Regions from separate parts of the Homo sapiens genome. Here all the other regions are linked to region 3. Evidence: promoter capture Hi-C in human tissues and cell types (Jung and others, 2019). All regions are on one chromosome and are shown on one strand. Each heading gives the region's core, a stretch centred on a gene start or on the middle of the fragment in contact. The rest is flanking DNA. Distances are from core to core; before and after follow the strand shown.

Region 1 (3,886 bases), core at 1,002-3,501, 320 kb after region 3:
TTTACCCAATTTGTGTGCAAGGAAAGACTTAGTCTGTTCGTCAGTCTATACATCACATGTCGCTGATATGTCTTATGTAACATAGGCCATGGATGTCCTGTGGCTTTGATCATGGATTTGTAACTTTTCCGAGTGTGTGGGGCCAAGTGTGGAGCTGTCGTGGCTCTGAATGTGTGTACCTGGGACATACCTGCATATTAGATGTGTGTCTGTCTATTTGTGTATGAGAGCCTGTGTTGTGGCCTTGCGTCTGCATGACTGAATGTGCATTACAGATGAGTGTGTATGTGTGTGTACGTGTGCCTATCCCCTATAAGTGTGTCTGTGTGACTGTGTTGAGACCGTGCACCTGCAGCAGGGCCAGTGTGACTCTGTGTGTGTCACACAGAGGGGGAAACTTCACAGCTAATTTCATGGATGTTGGGATATGTACCTGTGTGGTGTGAGGCTATTTGACTCAAAGGGTCTAAGGTGTGGTACTCAGCCTGACCCCCGTATCTCCCTATATCCGTCTTGCCTCTTCCCCATCTCCATGGCAACCAGCTCCTCAGCTCCCTCCAGGAAGATGGAGGGGGAGGATCCAGACTGCAGTGGACCACAGCCCCCTCCCATCCCCCTTGGCTCTGGGGACAATGGGGGGGAGGGGACAGATGGGTAGCCACCCCATCCACCCCAGGCCATCTGCTACCCTCCCCCATCCTGGGGACCTGAGAGCATGGCAAGGGAGGAGCAGGGGGGGGTTGGAGCCGATCCCCCTGCCGCAGATCACGCAGTGGCCACAATTACCTGCATCCAGACCCCTTCTGAGCCTAATCTTGCCTCTGACCAACCCAGGAAGGAAAGATTCCTTGGAGGTTAAGAACCCAGGGAGAAGGAAATTCTTGCATCAAGGAACACAGAATAATAGCAATGATCCATTCCAAAGAAAGGCACCCTAGTTCCAATGACTTTGGGCTCTGAAATTGGACTTGTCCTGCGTTCTCATCCCAGTTTCTCTCTCTCAAGCTGTGTGCCCTTGAAGAAGCCACCCTCAATGTTCCCAGGCCTCCACTTTGTCATCTGAAAACAAATTTTTCTTAATGACATGAGTAGTAATACTGTACAAGGGCCAAGGCTGTTTTGTTCTCTATTGTATCGCAGCATCAGGGACAGTGCCTGGCACTTAGTAGGTAGGCCCTGAGTGCTGTTGTTTGAATGGAGAGCCAGTTGTGCCCCAGGGCAGGTGCTGCAGGCTGCAACTCCAGCTCAGTGAATTCAATCCTCTGAGCCCTTTCAGCATCACGGTGTTGATTCTTCAAAGGATGGATGAAAGATTTGAAGGGGAATTTCCCAGCTGAAAGGATTGAAAAAGAGTGAAGTGAAATTTCTTTCTCTTTCTTTCTTTCTTTTTTTTTTTTTTTTTTGAGACAAGGTTTTGCTCTGTCTCCCAGGCTCGAATCTAGTTGCTTGATCATGGCTGACTGCAGCCTCAAACTCCTGTGCTCAAGAGATCCTCCCACCTCAGACTCCAGAGTACCTGGGGCTACAAGCATGTGCTACCACGCCTGGCTAATTAAAAAAAAAATTTTTTTTTTGTAGAGATGGGGTCTCACAATATTGTTGCCCAGCTCGTCTCAAACTCCTGGGCTCAAGTGATTCTTCCGCCTCGGCCTCCCAAAGTGCTGGGATGACAGGCATGAACCACCGCGCCTAGTCGAAATTTCTTGTCTTGACCAAGTGAAGTCAAAGTAAGCTCCTAAGGCTGTTTCCTCATCTGTAAAATAGGGATAATAAGCGTAACTCACAGAGCTGGTCGCTCTGGGGAGTAAATGCGATAACGTCTGTGACGTGCTTGCTTGGAACCGGACCTGGCACACAGTAAGTGCTCAATAAACGTTCATTCAAGGTGAGGAGTGGGGACGGCTTGGAGGAGCCCGGGGTCCTCCCAGCAGCCTGGGGGAGTCGGGTCCAGCTCTCTGCCGCCGGGAGGGGCGTGGCCAACCCAGAGGGACGTGGTCCAGGCTTCAAGGCTGGACCAATGGGGGCGCCGAAGGGCGTGGCCCTACCCGGCATGGGCGTGACCTCGTTGGGTGGGAGGGGCCAGGCGCTGTGGGAGCCTCCGGGAAGAAGATGCTCGGGCCAGCAGCCACCGCCAGCCCCGTCGCCGCCGCCGCCCGCGCCCGCCGCCCCCCGGGCCCCCACTAGCGGCCGCCTCCGCCTCCCACTCCGGCCACGCTCCTCCGGCCCCCCACCCCGAGCAGGGTCTGGGGGGCTCGGCCCTCTTGCCCCAGGGAGCCAAGAAGAAGCGGGGAGTCCCGTCCCCCCAGTGGCGCGTCCAGTCCCCAGCCTCTGTGGTCCCAGGAGAGACCCCACCTCTCAGTTCTTTCCCGGCCCTATCGGAGACCCCCCTCGGCCCTGCCATCCTGCTCACGGCCGCTCTCCAGGCTCTGTCAGCCCCCCGAGAACCGGCTCCCCCCTACCCCCGCCTTCCCTCTCCGGGGCTCCCCCTCCCCCATCCCTCCACCGCCCCCTCCCCCTCCCACCTCCCCTCCCCTCCCCCTCCCCCGCCCCCCGCCCCCCGCCCCCCCCCACCATGAGGATGATGGCCGCCGGCGCGGTGCACGGCCTCTTCACGGCCTCCGCGGCCCCGCAGCCGCCGCCGCCCCCGCCGCCGCCGCCGCCGCAACCCCAGCCTCCCCAGCAGCCGTCGCCGCCGCCACAGCAGCCGCCGCCGCCGCCGCCGCAGCCGCCGCAGCAGCAGCAGCCGCCGCCCCAGGCCCCCCCCATGGAGCCCGAGGCCCCGGATTCCCGCAAGAGGCCCCTCGAAACGCCCCCCGAGGTGGTCTGCACCAAGCGCAGCAACACGGGAGGTGAGAAAGGGCTGCGGCTCGGGGCGGGGGAGCGGGCAGGGGGCCTCGCCTTTCTCCATCCTTTCCCCCCCTCCCGTGGCAGGTGCAAGGGCTCTGGGGAGGGGAGAGACACCCCTCCCCGAGGCGGGGGACAGAGCGGGGAGTTGAGGAGGGGGCTGGACCCCCTCCTCCTCTCGCTGAGGCCCGGGGCTGGGAGCTTTGTCTGCGAGGAGAGGGGTGGGGGGGAGGGGGTGATAAGTGTCCTTGGGGGGCGCAGAAGATGGGGGGCGTGGGAGCCTCAGGGCAGGTGTCTGTGTGTCCTTGAGGGGTGTGTGATGTGACCCTTTCGGAGCAGGGGTGTTCCCCGAGCTCGCGTGTCCTGGCTGGGGGAGGGGAAGGAGTAGAGGCCTGTGGACCGGGAGCTTCCCAGCCTCCCTCCCTGGGGATGTCCTGAACAAGGGTTGTCCCAGATGGAGGCTTGTGTGGCCCTGGCCGGATCGTGCGTGGGGACAGGCTGGGTAGGTGTGTGGGGTGAAATGGAGGAAATGGTGGGTGTGTAAAGCTAGGTGGGAGAATGTGAGGCTAGGACAGGTGTGTATGTGTGTGCGTGTGTGTGTATGTGTGCCCTCTACAGCCTGGATGTGTGACATTAGGGATCAGGAATATGACAGCATAGGGGGGTGTATGAGAAAGACAGGGGACAGGGGCTGGGCTCCATGTTTGAGACCCTCCAGCGGGTACGTGTGACAAGGAAAGGTGTGTGCTTGTCACCCCCAAGGGGGCTGTGGCAGAGTGTGACACATGAGAGGGTGTGTGTGACATGCAAGGAGGTGTGTGGGGGACACCGAATGGGCTGGCTCTGGGTGTCAGCCAGAAGAGGCCGTGTAGATCAGAGGAAAGGGGTCCAGTGTGTGTGACACAGGCGTGGCTGGTGAGGGGATGTGACAAGAAAAGGGTGTGGGTGTGACTCCAGAGAGGCTGTGGCTGGGTGTGACACATGGAGGTGTGCAACAGTGACATCAGAGGGGGTGTGTGCAACAGGGAAGGTGGGTGTATGA
Region 2 (4,074 bases), core at 220-2,719, 410 kb before region 3:
TTGGAGGTTAGGGTTTCAACATAAGAATTTTGGGGGAGACACAGACATTTAGTCCATAACAGCACCCATACATATCTCCTTAAATCATAGTTTAAAAATATACAGGTTTTCTTTTTTGGAGACAGCGTCTCAGTCTGTCACCCAGGCTGGAGTGCAGTGGCGCGATCTCAGCTCACCACAACCTCCACTTCCCAGGCTCAAGCGATTCTCCTGCCTCAGCCTACCGAGTAGCTGGGATTACAGGCACACACCATTACTGCCCGGCTAATTTTTGTATTTCTAGTAGAGACGGGGTTTCACCACGTTGGCCAGGCTGGTCTTGAACTCCTGACCTCAAATGATCCACCCGCCTTGCCCTCCCACAGTGCTGGGATTACAGGCATGAGCCACCGCGCCTGTCCAAAACATACAGTTCTTTAAGCCAAGATGTCTCAAGGTTCAGCCCAAGTGTCAAGATCTATATAGGTCCTCTGTCCCTGTTATTCATGCTTCTGAGTGAGAATGTTGAAATCGGGGCTCTGCCTACAGATGAAGGCCATGTACCTGCATTGGCTATGAGGACAGATGACAGGTGAGGACCATCCATTCTGTGATGAGACCCTGTGGCTCCATTGTTTTGTGTGTGTGAGACAGAGTCTTGCTCCGTCACCCAGGATGGAGTGCAGTGGCGTGGTCTTGGCTCACTGCAACCTCTACCTCCTGGGTTCAAGCAATTCTCCTGCTTCAGCCTCCCAAATAGCTGGGATTACAGGTGCGCACCACCACTCCTGGCTAATTTTTGTATTTTTAGTAGACGGGGTTTCACCATGTTGGCCAGGCTGGTTTCAAGTAATCCACCCTCCTCAGCCTCCCCAAGTGCTGGGATTACAGACATGAGCCACTGCGCTGGGCCCCATGCGCCTCCATTTTTGTATGGTGTGCCCTGCAATTAGAGCCATATTCTTGGATGTTCCATTGGGTATTAGGTCTGAGACAGCATCTCTAGCTCCGTGGGTGCCACGCTTGTACAGAAATCCTGATTCTGGGCCAGGCACGGTGGCTCACACCTGTAATCCCAGCACTTTGGGAGGCCAAGGCGGGCGGATCATGAGGTCAGGAGTTAGAGACCAGCCTGGCCAACATGGTGAAACCCTGTCTCTACTAAAACTAGAAAAATTAGCTGGGTGTGGTGGCGGGTACCTATAATCCCAGCTACTCGGGAGGCTGAGGCAGGAGAATCATTTGAACCTGAGGGGGTGGAGGTTGCAGTGAGCCGAGATCATACCATTGCACTCCAGCCTGGGTGACAGGGTGAGACTCCGTCTCAAAAAAAAAAAAAAAAAAGAAATCCAGTTTCTCCAATATCCTGTGTTCCAGATCATCATGCAGTCCAAAGTATACTTGTATTATTTAAGGACTCTAGGCCTGCAGATACTGATTCAGTGCATTAAAAGCTCTTATAAATATTGCCATCGTCCACACACCATATCCAACTCTTGAGGTCTCAGCATATGCAGTCTTTGTCATGATACAGCCCTGGTGTCATCAAGTCCTAATGGGTTATCAGCACAGACTTCACTGGTGCAGCATCACAGATGATGGTCCCAGTTCCTATGGTGGCAAGAGAACCCCAAATGACTACATTCCGACAGGAGTTTAACTCTATCCTGAGACTCATTCTGAGAGTTATAGATAAGATTCTGAAATTCTGGAAGGCACATGAGTGATTCAAGGCCAACACTGGGAAATGGTTCCTGTGTGCAAAGACCATTTGCCCTGCTGAAGCTCTTCTTGCAGGGCCAACACCGTTCTCCAAGCTTGCCTCCGTGATTACAGCATGCAGCCAAGACAGTGCCTACAATGAGGAGGTGTGGAACTGGAAAGCCTGGAGCAGGCGGGTACCAGAAGGGCTCCCAAAGGCTGGAGGAACATTCTTCACTCCAGAATAGAAAGCGATCCTGGAATCGTTTGGAATCACTGGAGATGTATTAGAGCACACATACAGAACGTCCAGTGGGAAACAGGGAGTTGAGCTGATTTCTCCATGGATGAGGATTTTAAAAGATAAAATAGGCAGGGCACAGTGGCTCATGCCTGTAATCCCAACACTTTGGGAGGCTGAGGTGGGAGGATCACTTGAGCCCAGGAGTTCAAGACCAGCCTGGGCAATGTAGCGAGACCCCATCTCTACAAAAAAATAAAAATAAAAAAATTATCTGGGCATGGTAGTGTATGTCTGTGGTTCTGGCTACTCAGGAGGCTGAGGCAGGAGGATTACTTGAGCCCAGGAGTTGAAGGCTGCAGTGAGCTATGATTGTGCCATTGTGCTTCAGCCGGGGGTACAGGGAGATCCTGTCTCTACAAAATAAAATAAGACAATAAGAAGTCATACTTCTGCCTAGTATGGTACAATGGACCTGAGTACAACTGAGAACTCTTTTTTTTTTTTTGAAACTGAGTCTCGCTGTATTGCCCAGGCTGGAGTGCAGTGGCGTGATCTCAGCTCACTACAACCTCTGCCTCCTGGGTTCAAGTGATTCTCCTGCCTCAGCCTCCGGAGTAGCTGGGATTACAGGCGTGTGCCACTACACCCGGCTAAGTTTTGTATTTTTAGTAGAGATGGGGTTTTGCCATGTTGGCCAGTGTGGTCTCAAACTCCTGACCTCAAGTGATCCGCCGGCCTTGGCCTCCCAAAGTGCTGGGATTACAGGCGTGAGCCACCATGCGTGGCCCACACTACTAAGATTTAATCACACTACTTAGGGATTGCCTGGATTCCAGGTCTACAGAAAAGAGAAAGTGGGGTACAGGGGGTGAGCAGACCTGGAGGGATAGTGACCTTAGGGGTGGGGGTGAGGAGAGGCATTTTCTTTTGGAAAGTTGGGGTTGGGGAAAGAGGGGGAACCAAAGGGGCCTCAGAAAAAGGAAGGTCAGGGTTAGAAGGGGGAACAGGTGTCTCTAGGGAGATGGACAGGAGTTTTGGGGAGGACTAGAAGGAGGTGCTTACCATAGAGGACTGGGGCTGGGTCAGAGCTTTGGCGGGGACTTTTGAGGCATCCATTGTTGCAGTGGGAAAAGGTGGGGTGTGAGGCGCGTTCAGGGCCTGGGGGGCAGATGGGGTGATGTCGGGGCTACAAGCTGGAACTAGGGGTGGAGCTTTGGAGGGAACCTTTGAGGTATCCCTTGTTGGAGTGGGAAAATTTTGGGTGTGAGGCGTGTTCAGGGTCTGGGGGACAGATGGGGTGATGGCAGGGCTACAAGCTGAAACTGGGGACAGAGCTTTGGGGGGAGCCTTTGAGGTGTCCCTTGTTGGAGTGAGAAAAGGGGTGTGGGTGTGTTCAGGGTCTGGGGGACAGATGGGGTGATGGTGGGGCTACAAGCTGGAACTTGGGGCAGAACTCTAAGGAGGGGTGGGCCTGAAGGGGCTGATACACTTACGGATAGTAGTGCCTTTTGGAGGAGATCGTGCTGGCGGGGGGTGATGGGACAGGACCAGGTGAGAGATTGGGTGGAAAGGGCACAACTTCTCAAGAAGAGACCTAGGAGGGGCAGACGCCATGTCTCTTACTCTCTGGCGCCCCCTGCAGGCTGCGGGCTGAACTACCACAAGCGCTGTGCCTTCAGCATCCCCAACAACTGTAGTGGGGCCCGCAAACGGCGCCTGTCATCCACGTCTCTGGCCAGTGGCCACTCGGTGCGCCTCGGCACCTCCGAGTCCCTGCCCTGCACGGCTGAAGAGCTGGTGAGGAGATGGGGGATGGGACGGGTTGGTGGCTAGGGGGGTGACTTGGCCCAGGCATGGGGCCAACGCACTGATGTGTCCCCTCCATTCTTGCCAACGACAGAGCCGTAGCACCACCGAACTCCTGCCTCGCCGTCCCCCGTCATCCTCTTCCTCCTCTTCTGCCTCATCGTATACGGGCCGCCCCATTGAGCTGGACAAGATGCTGCTCTCCAAGGTCAAGGTGCCGCACACCTTCCTCATCCACAGCTATACACGGCCCACCGTTTGCCAGGCTTGCAAGAAACTCCTCAAGGGCCTCTTCCGGCAGGGCCTGCAATGCAAAGGTTAGCTGGGCCTGTCGGGGAGGACAG
Region 3 (3,589 bases), core at 382-2,881:
ATCCTATCTTCTCCGGGAATACTACCTCACTGGGCACTCTGGGCTGCAAGCCGTACCCACCAGGGACTTCCCAAGAGCATCCTTGGCCACAGTGGGATGGCAGCCAGCCCCAGCTAGAGGAAGGGAAGGGGGAAAGGAGGTGTTGGGGGCCCACTCACCATCGCCCAGGCCCCCGTTGGCTGAAGGGCCATCCAGGGGGTGCAGGAGGGGATGCGGTGCAGCCAGGACCCGGGTGCGAGTTACGAGTGGGTGCGCACGGCGGTGAGATGACTCCACAGGAAAGGGCCGGCCTTGGGTGGGGAGGGGGGGCACCCGAGCTCAGCCAAGAGGGGCCCCCACCCAGCCAGGAGGGGGCGCTGAGAGGGGCGGAACGACAGCTGGCCCAAAAGGGGTGGGATAGAGTTCCTTGTTAGGCCCAGAGCCAGGGCCTGGAATAGAGTAGGGGACAGGGGAGAGGATGGGGGCGGTTAGAAACATGGGGTGTGCATGGATCCAATCAGGCCTGAGAAGCCAGGGAGGAGGGAAGGGGGTGAGGCTTACTGGGTGCCTCACATTGGACAGGGAAAGCTGAGGACCTAGAACATTTTCCAGGGTCCCATGGGAACATGGCCAGATAAAACCCCCCGGCAGCGGCCCCAGGGCACAGGTTCCCCTGTGTTCCAGCAGAGCTGCACCTGCTGGGCAAGTGAACCCAGAAACCCACCCTCTGCCCGGGATGACCCCATCTGAGTACTGCGGCAGGGGGCGTTCCCATCACAGCCTGCAGGCTCACAGCACCCTGCCATGGAGTCTCCCCAAAATAAAGCTTGGATGAGGCTCCCCTGTCTCTCAGGATGGGGGTGCAGGGGTGAGATGAGGGGCTGGACTTTGGGAAGTGGGTCCAGCTTGTTTCCCTGTTATTTAAGGGGGTGACTCTGGCTTTTGAAAGGATACAAAAAGTCTCTTGGGAAGGGTCCCAGACGGCTTCTGAAAGGGGCTCCCCTCTGCCCATTTCTAGGGAAACCCAATGTTTAGGAGACTGTGTCAGGAAGCATACTATTAGAGGAGATCTCTCCTCTCTTGAACTCAGGAGCTGAATGCCATTCCAAGGGACTCCCTATATGTGGGAAGGCTCCATTTAGGGGTATCCCATATCACCTAGGATCCCAGGCACCTGGTGGCAAAGAATACCCTCAATTTTGGGGGGTTCAGAGGCCAGAGGGATCAATATGTGGAGGGCGAATATCTCCCGCAGAAGCCTGGGGACTGCTCAAATGCAATCACCCCTAATTTATCAGGAATCCCAAGTTCCACCCCCAACCAGGAGGGTAAATGAGCCTTGGGTAGCGAGAAATCGGGAACCCCGAAGCCGCTCTTGGCCAGAGGGGCGGGGCAGCCAGAGACGTAGGGAATCCCCCACCCCTGCAGTCCCTAAGGGTGGAGAGTGCGGTGGGGATGTGCCTCCAACTGCGCGCCCCGGGGCGTTCTTGGCTCGCACCCGCGAACCCCACCCCCCCCAACAATCCAGCTCAGGGGTCTCCAGGAGGAGAGCCCCCCAATTCCCAGAACTCCTGCCCCCGAACTTCAGTACCTTGCGCGCTGCAGCCCCAGCGCCATGGCTCGCCAGTCGCCGCTCCGGAGCCCTCGGAGGCCCCTAGCCCCCTCCCCGGCCTTGCGAGCCCCCTCCCCAGCTCCTCCCCACGCCGCGCGGTTGGCTGTGCCACGCCAGGCCTGAGGCTCTGATTGGGCAACGGTATGTCACTCCTGAAAAGGAGGCGGAACCAGAGGGAAAGACTTGGAAAGGCAAGGGGGGGATACCGTGTAATACACACCCCCCAACCACGCCCCTCGCCGCGGACTTCCTCGGCAGTGTATCCCGCACCGTCGGCTGAACGCGCCTTCTCTAGTCCAGCCTCTGAAGTGCCAACGCCAGTACTCTTCTGAACCCACTCAGTTCACTCTGCTCTCTGGACCCCAGTCCCCAGCCTCTAACCCCCACCTCTTCTCACCTTTCCATTTCCTAACCCCAGTTGAGCCCCTCTGACCTCCAATCCCACCCCTTCCAAACCCCTAGCCCTGCCTTCTCTATCCCTTCTAAGGTATTCACAGAGTACCCCACATCTCCTCCCCACCCCCCAACTCCCAACCCCACCCCAGTTCCACAATCCTTGGCCCTCTGGCACCTACCCTTCTCTCTCTCTCCCCAGCCCCTCCCTGCCACCCCAGTCCCATACCCCACTTCGCCCCCATTCCTCCAGTCTGCACCCTCTGCACCCCAGCTTACCTTCCCTACCCCCTCTACTCCACCCTAACCTCTTGGCCTCTCTGACTCCCTTTTCAGGTTCCCATTGATGAATAATTAAGCTTATGTCAAGTAAATATGTTTTAACTCAATCACACCTACTTCAAAAAAGAGCCGAGAAATGTATTTTTTTTTAACTAGTCGACTATGAAGGGAGAAGTACAAAGGTACCAAGCAAGGGTGAAAGCATTACAGTTGGATAAGGAACAGAGTGTGTGTGTGTGTGTGTGTGTGTGTGTGTGTTGGACCACTATTCTGGATTTGGTTGGCAGGGAAGAGGATACTACAGCAGAAGTGGCCTTGTTGAACCTTGAACTTGCCAGGCAAGTTGCTCACCTTAGGGCCTTTGCACTTGCTGTTCCCACAGCTTAGCACACTCTTCCTCCAGGAATCCACACGGCTCCCCGGCTCACGCCAGTTCCCCACTCTGTTTTCTTTTGGGAAACCACTTCTCTGTCCTCTTCATCTATTTAATTTGAATAGGGCTTGGCCACTGCTCTGCCTTCACCAGCTCCAGGGATGGACATAGGATCCAAACCTGGCTAATCAGTTGAGTCTGCTTCCCTGGCCACAGTGATTGGTTCAGGGAAGGCATGTTACCTAATTTAGCCCAATGAGAATCAACCCTGAGACATTTGCTGAAACCATTAGGAAAGAGGATTTTCTATGTCTGCTGGAATTGCTGGGCAGATGGAGCAGATGGGGCTCACACTGCCACAAAGAGAGGAGAGGCTTTATGAGATGAGGTTCAGTGCAAAAGAGATTGTGCAGAAATGAACGATTGTGAAAGGCAGTTTTGACACCAGCACTTGAGTGCCTGGATCCAGCCATACCTGAACTCCAGTTTAATTCTTGGATTTTTCAAATGAAACCCACAATGGGCTTTTTTTTTTTTTTTTTTTTTTTTTTGCTGTTGCTTTTGTCAAATATTGCTTCATTCACTATTGCCTTATTTGCTTTGTGCTTAGATTCGTTTGAATGGATTTTAGATACTTGCACCCAAAAGAATCTTGATAGAGAAATCAGCTTTCAACCCTCAGTGTAGAGGCAGGTGGGATGTTAGAAAAGGAGCAGTCTGAATTATAAAGGGGGGCCGGCCATGGTGGCTCACGACTGTAATCCCAGCACTTTGGGAGGCTGAGGCGGGCAGATCACCTGAGGTCAGGAGTTCAAGACCAGCCTGGCCAACATGGTGAAACCCCATCTCTACTAAAAATACAAAAATTAGCCGGGTGTGGTGGCACACCCTTGTAATCCCAGCTACTCGGGAGGCTGAGGCAGGAGAATCGCTTGAACCCAGGAGGCAGA

Evidence for each region. The method cuts DNA at HindIII sites, captures the fragments that hold promoters and counts their contacts. A contact is called where the count stands out against the background at its distance.
Region 1: the fragment with the promoter of NOVA2 here is called in contact with the fragment with the promoter of HIF3A in region 3 in 1 of the 25 tissues and cell types used here (IMR-90 fibroblasts).
Region 2: a fragment that was not itself captured here is called in contact with the fragment with the promoter of HIF3A in region 3 in 1 of the 25 tissues and cell types used here (dorsolateral prefrontal cortex).

What each region holds. Positions count from the first base shown.
Region 1 is chr19:45,972,230-45,976,115 of GRCh38, reverse strand. NOVA2 (NOVA alternative splicing regulator 2) reads left to right here and starts at 2,251. Exons shown (of 4, transcript NM_002516.4): 1 at 2,251-2,849. The coding sequence starts at 2,765. RefSeq lists a silencer at 1,926-2,085. The HindIII fragment of the contact is 35,305 bases long and covers 1-3,886 here.
Region 2 is chr19:46,704,142-46,708,215 of GRCh38, reverse strand. It overlaps PRKD2 (protein kinase D2), which reads left to right. Exons shown (of 18, transcript NM_016457.5): 4 at 3,567-3,721; 5 at 3,825-4,047. Among named protein-coding and RNA genes, the nearest start is that of MIR320E, 3.2 kb to the left of the region's middle. The HindIII fragment of the contact is 4,012 bases long and covers 1-3,475 here.
Region 3 is chr19:46,295,084-46,298,672 of GRCh38, reverse strand. HIF3A (hypoxia inducible factor 3 subunit alpha) reads right to left here and starts at 1,631. Exons shown (of 15, transcript NM_152795.4): 1 at 1,571-1,631. The coding sequence starts at 1,596. The HindIII fragment of the contact is 13,814 bases long and covers 1-3,589 here.